Linked DNA regions of Homo sapiens: region 1 is linked to region 2. Evidence: promoter capture Hi-C in 16 types of primary human blood cells and fetal thymus (Javierre and others, 2016). All regions are on one chromosome and are shown on one strand. The core of a region is centred on a gene start or on the middle of the fragment in contact, and the rest is flanking DNA. Distances in the headings are between cores, read along the strand shown.

The links. The method cuts DNA at HindIII sites, captures the fragments that hold promoters and counts their contacts. A CHiCAGO score of 5 or more calls a contact.
Region 1: a contact is called between a fragment that was not itself captured here and the fragment with the promoter of MORC1-AS1 in region 2, in 1 of 17 cell types (total B cells). The highest score is 6.7, in total B cells.

Annotation. Positions count from the first base shown.
Region 1 is chr3:111,519,144-111,524,636 of GRCh38, forward strand. All of the region lies in intron 2 of LOC105374039 (a long non-coding RNA gene), which reads left to right. Among named protein-coding and RNA genes, the nearest start is that of CD96, 20 kb to the right of the region's middle. The HindIII fragment of the contact is 254 bases long and covers 3,361-3,614 here.
Region 2 is chr3:109,098,859-109,104,179 of GRCh38, forward strand. MORC1-AS1 (MORC1 antisense RNA 1) reads left to right here and starts at 2,598. Exons shown (of 3, transcript NR_144461.1): 1 at 2,598-2,701. It overlaps MORC1 (MORC family CW-type zinc finger 1), which reads right to left. Exons shown (of 28, transcript NM_014429.4): 4 at 4,991-5,059; 5 at 1,559-1,649; 6 at 500-608. The HindIII fragment of the contact is 2,885 bases long and covers 1,642-4,526 here.

The sequences.
Region 1 (5,493 bases), core at 2,238-4,737, 2.4 Mb after region 2:
TCTTAATTTCCCTGGTTTGGTTTCAATGTAGACTCAGGTCTGGTCAATAGATAATGTAGATACCGTATCACTGGCTTCTGAGAGTAATTGTTTTAATGAGGCATCTGACAGGCTCCTGTTGGTCCCCAGGAAGCACAGCAGAAGGGATTGTGTTTATAATCGACTCTAATCCGTTCTAATCTTTCACTTTAACCTCACCAAGAATTAAGTGATTGATTTTTGGTCTCTTGAAAGAAAATAAAGACCTCCTGAGACAAAACTTGGCAGCTGTCCAAAGACAAAGAAACAATTGAGGGCTGGCACCATTTGTACTTGGATATGGGGAACTGTCTTGGTCTAAGTAGGTCATTTCCCTCCCACCAGTTCTTGGTTCCTATTTGAGCACTCGCATTGTCCTGGGTCAGGAAAGTTAGACAGAATTTCACAATAATTTATCTACCTCAGCGTCAGACACCTGTAAGACAAAATATGGCAAATATGGCTAGGCCAGGTTATTCCTTGGCATTCTGCTTCCTCTAAGACGTATCTCACTCCCTTGACCTAAAGTCCAAAGGCTGTAGTTCCCAGATTACTGCTGTCAGACAGCAGGAACTACCCTTTTTCTCACTCCACTCAGAAAGACATGTTAGTTCCCCTCTAAAAAAGTTTATTTTCCCTATAAGTTGGTGTTGGCTGGAACAACAATGTGCTGTTGGGGTAAGAAGTAGCTGACTACTAAATTGGATGTTATTCACACAAGTGCTCATCTTTTAACCTACTAGTGAAATTGGGGCTGAAATGATAAACTAATGAAAATAGAGAACAATACGTAAGCATTGAGGGAAAGCTGACCTCCTCCTTCCTTACCTCTCTTGTCCCCTCCAAACTTCCTATTCTCACCATTCCTCAGCCACTTTTTTAGTTTCTATTTTTCCATATAGTTCAAATATGCAGTGCCAGAGGAGTGGTGTGCACAGAGACTGAACTTCAAGTCAGAAGGCAGAGGGAGAGGATTCTTTGGAGAACAAAAAAAGAGAATGAGAGATAGCAAGAGGGGGAAGCAATTAAGTATATTTGACAATAGACCCCATTGTCAGCATATTTAATTGTCTTCACGCATCTTTTTGTACCTAGGCACCTCAGCCTCCTAACATCACCACCTGGCCAAGTTGCAGCCTCCTATCCAGCATTCTCCTATCTTGCTCCCTAACACCAGGTACTGTTGATTTCAGTCCAAAGTCAGCCCTTCATCTTCAGTCACACTTTCACCTATGCTCAGAAATATTTTTTTTTTGCCTCCTGTCACCATCCTCCCACTAACTAGTCCAAAATTCCCTGTTCCACTTTCCTTAGGGCTCCTTCCTCACTGATTTTCACAAATAACCCATCTTCCCTTCTATTTATACATAAGGTTGGAGGTTCAAGTCAGAACTTCAACTTTCTTACTCTCCACATCTCAATTTTACCATAATTTCTCTGATAACCACCCTGCTATAGAGCAAAAACTTCCCTATTCAGTCTGCGTACCCCATCAGTGCTCTATTGCACTCTCTTAATCTCCCAAATACTTCCCTGTGAGTTTTTTCCTGTTTCTTGAATTATTAGTCTCTTCCTCTTCACTCTCTGCTTCCTACAACCTAATATAAATTTCGTCTTATGAAAAAAGTCTCATCCCAATAATACTTAACTGCTTCCCCCTCTTGCTATCTTTCATCCTCTTTTTTTTTCTCCAAAGAATCCTCTCCCTCTTTGCCTTCTGACTTAAAGTTTAGCCTCTGTGCACACCACTACCCTGGCACTGCATATTTGAACTTACTAGTGATAAATGAAGTTGGGAGTGTAGACAGAGAATAAAAGAAGAAAGAAAACAGGACTGCTGAAAGGTTAAGATTGCAAGAGTAGAAGATGGAATCACCTACGAAGAAGATGGGAAAAGGCTAGCCACAGAAGCGTGTATGGAGTTAGGAATGGGGGCAAGAGAGCACAGCCCTGGACTTACCCTGAAAGCCAGACCAAGGTCCACAGAAGCCCCACTTTCTGAGCAAAGGGTGTCAGGAGAGGAAAGAGCTAACCTCCATTCCAGCCAGGTGGGCTTTACCCAATAGGTCTGTGGTTGCATTGCTGGGACAGAGAGGTGAAGACCAGTGCAGCAGGTGTGAGGCTGGCCTTTGTCCTGCAAGACACTGCTGGATAGAGGGGACAGTCAGCTGCTAATGCCAGGGGGACCAGCAATCCTGGAAGGAGCTAATAGGAGATGAAGGAATCTTCTGGTTAAGAGATGTGGTGCCCCCTCACCTCTCTCTTCCTACCCATCCATCCACAACTTCTAGCCCCAGGAACTTTAATTTTTAACAAAGCATTACTAATATCTAGGTTTTGTACTGATTTGATTGCCTCCTGTTTTCTCGGCATCCATGTCAGAAGTGTCTTTGAAATTTAAATTAATGAAAAATATTGGGTTTTTTTCAACCTATCAGCAAACATTAGGACTTTTATTATCAAACTTACATTTATAAGAAGAGTAGCCAGACCAAGGCTCAAGTATAATTTAAACGGAAAAAAAAGTGCTTTATTGTTTTGTCACACTGAAGCCTTGAGCCACACAGATCAAGTTTATGTCAGAAAATTATTAAAGGACCAAGTCTACAACATGTGGATTTGGGGAGCATATGTCATATTTGATGTGGGAAAGAGGAATATCCCACAATTGGATATAAAGGATACGTCAAAGGCAAGTGTATTTCATAACAACATAAGAGGAAATGAGAGGGAAAATCAGTGCAGAAAGAATCTTTGAAACTTAACCAAAAGAAAACAGCTCCTCACTCAGATAGACAATACGGTCCCTGAGTAAATGTCATCTGTAAGAATATTTATCTTTGTGTTCCCACTTTCTTTGATGATATCATTATTCTAGGCAAAGATCATTCCTGTCCGGCCCGCAAACATCAGCAGCACATAAACACTAACTTGCTTAGGGAACTCCACTGGCAGCAGAGCCCAGGGAAATTGTGTCATCCATTTAAGATGTCTCATACCACAGACACACTGTTATCCCAGGCCATTGCTGGCTTCCTTGAAAGCAATAAGCAGACAATACAAGAAGCTGGCAGGAAATCCAGTATCTAAAACCCAATATGAGATTGTGGGCCCAATCTAATAAGAATAGATTCATCTGGCTTTATTCCCATTTTGTCACTTGCTTTGTGGGGAAAGTAAAACACGATAAAGCAGAGCATTATGGCAACCTCTGAGTGCATATTGACTCCTCATTCCCTGAACTTTTATGCTGAACATCTTGAATCATGCAAATTAGTGGGGACTCAGTTTCTTAGCTGTACCTTTCTTTCTATTACAGTGGAAGCTTAAGAGACTTTCTCAAGCTTAGCTTAAAAGATTCCAATATTGAATGTTCTGAGGCTTCTTTAAATTCACAAGTGAATTTGATGAAAATTTAGACATTCATCTGATGTATGTTAAAGAGTCTAGAGTCGTCATCACCCCAGGAAGCAACTGGGGCAGATGCATTGGCTAACTTTCCTATGACTTCTATGGGATCTATGCTTTTAATAAAACTTAAATTTGATTTGAACAAAATTGATAAGGGGTCAAAAGGACAGAGAATCTGAAGTTGAAGCTTCTTCTTGTTTAGTAAGGGGTTTTGTTTCTTTTAAGCAGATGGATTTATTAAGATTTTTATAGCATTTCTGTGCTCAAACCAGTAGATCTGTGTATTGGGTAGCTGTTTACTTTAGACTTTTATGTAAGCCCTAGCAAGATCTTCTCATTAATCCAATCACAGCAGCAGGCTGTGATTAATTTACTGCAGCATTGATTTTTTAAGGAGCATTGAAAAGACCTCCTTAGTTCAGGGAGAAAAAATGCATTAAGGGATTACAGACTACATCTGCCAAAACTAAGATATTTATTCATATAATTTATTATAATTTTCTGTTTTACATGGCCTATCATTTTCTATATATTTCATGGAAATCTTATATTTTATAACTTAATGGCAGGCCAAGTCATTTGGTGATGACTATTAAACTCGTATTGAATCAATGAACTAGGAGGCCATTTTCATTTATGTAATCTTTAGCAGTTTACCATTTTACTAATGAGGAAATGCAAGCCCAGAAAATTAAATGACCTATCTATCCAACATCACTGAGTTGGAGGAGAGCTATATCTAGAAACTGCCTTCCTTCCCTTGACTCCTCTCTCTTGCTTCTTACTTTTCTTAGCATTATTGTGACTTTGTTAGCTGTGCTATGGGCCAGACACTACACCAGAAACTTTCACATATGTAATCCCTTTGAATTTTCACAGCAATCTTGAAGGAAGGCATTGTCATTACCATAATTTTATATGTAAGGAAACTAAAGCTGAAAGAATTTAAGTTACTTGACCAAGGTCATTCAACTAAAAGCTGGGTAAATCCTAGATACTAAGCTAAAGTTTGTTTCCACCCAAATTCTAAGCTCCTAATTGTACCCCATACATAACATTGCTTAGAAAGATGACATTGCAGTGTTCTGCCACTTTTGCCATTTCCCCAACTTCTTCCTTAGGGCAAAAGGTGACTTTCTAAATTGTTCATGATGTGAGCTCAAATCTTTGCCTGAAAATCACTTTCTTTGACCACCTTTTGTTCCATATATCACTGACTGTCTTAGGGGTCCAAAACAGAGCTGGGAACTTTGGTTAATGATGGATGGCACTAACCAGTATACAGATCACTCTTCTTCAGCTCTTTTGAATCTGTACAGTTGATACGGGGAAAGAAAAATAAGTTCACATTTGTTTTCATCAAGGAAAGAATTAGGCAATTCATATAAAATAACATTTTGGCCAAAAGTTGTTGTTATCATTAGAAAAACAAAAAGGACTATGCATTTTATGCTAAGAATAGCTTGTTTTGCACCTGGCTTACTTGGATGCCAGGCACTTTACATGTCATCAGTCTTCACACATACCCATTTAAGAGATGCTAGAACACAGAGGCTTAGAGAGATTTAGCATTGCTGCAGGAAGTCAGGGACCCCAAACAGAGGGATCGGCTGGAGCCACGGCAGAGGAACATAAATCATGAAGATTTCAGGGAGAGTTATCAGTTCCCTAATAATACTTTTATAATTTCTTATGCCTGTCTTACTTTGATGTCTTAATCCTGTTATCTTTGTAAGCTGAGGATGTATGTCACCTCAGGAACACTATGATAATTGTGTTAACTGTACAAATTCATGGTAAAATATGTGTGTTTGAACAATATGAAATTAGTGCACCTTGAAAAGGAACAGAATAACACTGATTTTTAGGAAACAGGGGAAGACAACCATAAGGTCTGACTGCCTGCAGGGTCGGGCAAAAAGAGCCACATTTTTCTTCTTGCAGAGAGCCTATAAACAGACATGCAAGTAGGGAAGATATCGCTAAATTCTTTTCCTAGCAAGGAATATTGATATTAATACTCTGGGAAAGGAATTCATTCCTGGAGGAAGGTCTATAAATGGC
Region 2 (5,321 bases), core at 1,348-3,847:
TGAATTATAACTGACAGCCATAATAATAAAACTCAGGCACTGGTAATTAATAAAATGCCTCTGGATCAGCAAATGGAGTTGAAATTATGGTCACCAGAGTTACAGTTTTAAGTCTATTTTGCATTAATTTCTTTACATTTTGTATTCCAAGTCTTTGACTCCAATATTTTATTTATTTTTAAAATGATAATCAATTTATGGCATATATGGTGGAAAGATTTTGCAGGTTTCTTCTAAAAAGCTCATCATGTCTAAGGGAGCCTCTTACTTTGGGAGATTTGAGCACATGGATAATGAAAATGAAGTTCTCAGGAAAGGGTCAAGAGGACAGGTCTTTGATGTCCCCAGAATGTCTTGATACCTTCTCTCCATTTCCCAAACATATTCCTAAGTTTCTAAATAATATCAGAAAGAACCCATGACAAGACTTCACCTCCTGAGAGAGTAAATGAAAGCAACATCATTGCTATGGGAACAGAAGGAAAACTTCAACTCTTACCTCACTAAGACTTTCTTCTTCACAGAATGTCTGAGAAAAAAACACACAGGTCATCGTTTCTTCCTTCTTCGTAAAAAGAATAAAGTCTTTTCCAATTCTCATGGACCCACTATATTAAAAATGAAGAACATCATGTTTTACACCTCAAATACTAAAAAGGAAGAAACAGGCAGACTGTTATCACCGTGTACTGTAACAGGATGTTCTTTCCAACACTCTGTTCTGCTGACCCGTCATCAAGAGGGTACAATTTTTTTTTTTTCAAAGTAAAGCAGAAGAATTTGAACTAAGCCAGCTCCACACTCTTGCTTGAGGTTTGGCTGCAGGGGAAAGGGTCCATTCAGGGCTCAAAAGAACAATCATCTGTCTCAGGTAGGAGCCGTACAAGTGAGCCTCATGTCCTGACCTTTCAATGCAGCATACTAAAACAAAGAGCTGCAGACACAGCACCTAGGTTAAAATATGCTTTGGGAAACAACAGAACATAGAGATGCAACAAAGCACTAAAGTACAGGGGTACCGCTTCAGGAATCTTTGAAAGAGGATTTATTTTATTATTTGGGAGAATTAACCTAAAATGTTGTAAAGATAAAAGTCAGTTATGGGCCGGGCGTGGTGGCTCATGCCTGTAATTCCAGTACTTTGGGAGGCCGAGGCGGGCTGATTACTTGAGGTCAGGAGTTCGAGACTAGCCTGGCCAACATGGTGAAACTCTGTCTCTACAAAAATACAAAAATTAGCTGAGCATGGTGGCTCATGCCTGTAATCCCAGCTGCCCAGGAGGCTGAGGCAGGAGAATCACTTGAACCCAGGAGGCGGAGGTTGCAGTGAGCCAAGATCGCACCACTGCACTCCAGCCAGGGTGACAGAGTGAGAATCTGTCTCAAAAAAAAAAAGTCAGTTTTGTATATGGAGATTCCAACACAAAGTAGGTCACCCCTGCCTCAAGTTTATATATTTTTTAAAGCTTTACATGCCTGCATCATTCTGTGTAAATTGCTTTATAAACAGTGTTCCCAGTATCAATAATATATGTCTTAAGGGAAAAAAAATTCTCACCTTTTAAGACCATTGCCGTATTGCCCTATGAACTTCAAGGTTGACAGCCGTTTTTTGGATCGTCCAAAGTAAATGATGTCTGAAGCTTCCTCTGTAATTGACAGTGACTTTTAAGGTGGTTAGGAAGACTCTTTGACACTGGCCTGAGGCCCAGCTGTCAGGACCTCACATTCCTCAGAACATCAGGACAAACCCATAGCTCTTGGGTCAGCCCAGAGACAAGGATTTTCATCAGAATCCACAGTCTCTGACAAGGGTCTTAATGGTATTACAGTCAGCCCAAGGTACGGCAGGCTCCACATTCATAGACTCAACTAATCTTGGACTGAAAATATTCAGAAAAAAATAAATTGCGTCTGGACTGACCACGTACAGACTTTTTTTTTGTCATTATTCTCTAAACAACAAAGTATAACAACTATTTAATAGCATTTACACTGCATTGGGTATTATAAGGAACCTGGAAAAGATTTAAAGTATACAGGAGGATATATATAGGTTATACGGAAATACCGTGCCATCTTCTTTCCACAGCTTTTGGTATCCTAGAAAGGTCCTGGAATCCATTCCCTACAGATACTAAGAAACAACTGTATACTGAAAGAGATGAGACAGACCTAACCATGTGGCCTTAGGTAGAGTTTAAAAGTCTGAGCCTTAATTTCCATGTGGTGTAAGAGGCAACTACGTAATACTTATATCACGGTGTTGCTGATGAAGATAAATGAAACAAATGAAATGAGATGATGTATTTGTGAAATCCTGAACACAAAACTTGGCACTTGGTGGGTGTTACCAAATTACAAGTGTTATAATTACTTGTACCACTAGTAATTTCCCCACGAATTTAGCCCTTAACCAGGCCCATGTGAGACTAAGAGGGGCAGGATGACCTCTGCTCTGATACTACCTGGGAAAGAAGGCTAACCATTTCAGACGTTCCAAATCATTCTCCCGACCTCTCCAGGTATTCTGGAATTCTAGACAGTAATCCTCTGGACTTCAGAATATATTAATACCAATCTCCAGAACCAAGAATGTTCTTCTTGTTGGCCTACCTGAATACATGCTGAAGAATTGTCCTGAGGACCCTCTGTCAGTCTGGGTACAGATATGCTATAGTTCAGTGGCACATGGTATGAGGTGTGTAAAAGCCACCAAACATTCTGCTTCTCTGAAACTAACTGGACCTCCTATGATATGTTCCTATGAGGGGTTAGGCATTAGGTAAGGATATCCATAATGACAATCTTAGCTAACACTTATTGATTGTTTAGTATATGCTAGGTACTATGTTTATACTTACATGCACAGCTTATTTAATATTTATAACAAAACAAGAAAGGTATTATTACTATGACCTGCATGTCACAGATGAGCAAATGTAAGTCTAAGGAGTTTTAAAAACCTGCCCAAGGTCACAGAGCTGATAGAGGGTACAGCTAGGATTATAACCCAAAGTTCTAAGTCTTGGTACAGACATGGTATAGCTCTGAACCAAATCCCATGTGTTCATTACACACTACATGAACTCACGTGCATGGTTACCCGGTTCTGAGCATGGGAATAAACCACTGAACAGGCCAGGCATGGCTCCTGCCTTGGACAACACTATGTCATGGTAGGAGAAACAGATTGAAAGTAAACTAATAAATAAGATCATTTCTGACTGAGTATTAAGTGAAGAAAACAAAACCAGGGTAATGCGATAGAGAATTAACAGGAACGTGGCCTGCAGACAGAATGATCAGGGAAGGCCACTGGCAGATGGTTAACATGAGATGGATTCAAACGATGAGGGGTCAGCCATGTGTGGGTGGAGTGTTCTAAGGGAGGAAGTGGGAAGAACAAGAAAAGGCCAAAGAGGTGCATAGGGCCAAATAATGTAAGGTCTTGGAAGAGATGCTGAGAGTACAAATTGTATTAAGTAATGGAAAACCACTGAGGGTTTTCAGCAGGAAAATGATATTAATGTACATTTTCAGCAGGAAAATGTACATTAAAAGAAAGAAAATCACTCAGGATGCTGTGTGGGGAATGGACTATAAAGGGGCAAGACTAGAGAATTTTTTAAAAACCCGGAAAGTACTGTAGTCATTTTCTATGGGTCAAGATTGATCTAGCTCCGTTTGAACAACGGATAGATTCTACTTTTAGTCATCTTCCTTCTACTTTATTACTAGTTGATGCTACTATGTAACTGAAGTGTGAGTTCCTTCTGAAGGTCTGAATATCCGTCACTTGTCTGTGTTTCAAACATTTTGTTCATGACCCATATAAAAAGAGTTGCTTCTTTTCATAAGGAATTCCCTTAGAATATATCACATATATTCTGTCATTTATTTTAGGAATTCAAAAAAATGAACTTAATATTCAGGCTAGAAGTGAAAAATTACTTTTTTCAGCATGGGTTTTTTCTGTTGTTGTTACAAACTCTTCTTTCTCATTTAAACAATAAAAGACCAAGAATACTTTTAATCAAAATGACCTGGAAAAATCAAAATTATCCGAAGTCAGAACAAAACTGGGTGAAACAGTCTTTCTAAACTTGCTAATACTCTTCAACTATTCAGACCAAGGGGAAACTTCAGAGCTGAAATAAGATATTTGCCATACCTCATATCTTCAGCTTCTATCAGCAAATCAATATTTGAGCATACTGATGCATCCTTTCCTCAGTTGTGGAACTGACCATGGCAGTTCCATATTACTGAACTCTCACCATTTTTTAAATCTAGTGGTCAAAAACCCTGGCTTGTGGAACACACCATGTTTAAAGAATTCAGAAATACAATACCTAAAACAACCCAATGCCCTCAGATGGAATCACATTTCAATTTCACAGCACACAGACACTGTATACCCATAATGTGCTGGCTTTGTGCTAACCTTGAATACACAAAGATAAGTCATGAAATATATTGTAGATGTATTCTTTATGATGGGAACATTCATTTGAAGCAAGTAAAGCTTTCAAAATGCAGAGGAAAAAACAAGGCTAAAAACAAGGAGAGGAAACCTCTACCTCGAGGTTAAGCAAAATTAAAAATAGCCTACAGGCACAGGAAACTGCCTGGGGCTCTCACAAGCAATACCTAAAGGATGAGCTAAAAACAATCTCAGAGTCTATTCAGTGACTATTTGTTTTCCATTCATTCCCAGATGCTTATTTCTTACAATCAGTAACATTTGCCTTTCATTTTTCTGACAATATTAATATACATTTACTTTTTGTCTTGGTTTAGATGGTTACAATAAATTTACTCTGCCAGCTGGGATACTTAAACCTAAAAAGTTCAACAAAAAGTCTGGGGCTTACTTTCTTTAATAGCTCCATACCTGTTTTTGCATAGATAGCTCAATTTATTTATTTTGTAGGTTTTCAGACTGTTTCCTTTAACAGCCAGTTAGGTATCTAGATAATTAACTTACCAGGGCTCATGCCACATCCATCATCCAGGAAACACAACATGAATCCCCCCTGCAGTTTTTCATTATCCACTGTAAGAGAAAGCAGTTATTACTAATAAATATCGGGCTTAATTTGTTAGTCAGAAAGTCATGCTGCTAGAATAATTATTCGTCTTCCTCCAATGCAGCCACAGAGTGACAGAGTTATGGCACAAAGATGGAGCCTAGAGTGGAGTCTTGGCTACAGCTTCACAAGAAACTGCAGGGGAAAAATAATCATGCAACATAAAGGCTTTAAATTAACACAAAACATCTACATGTGAAAAAATTATGTATACAGCAGGACATGTTC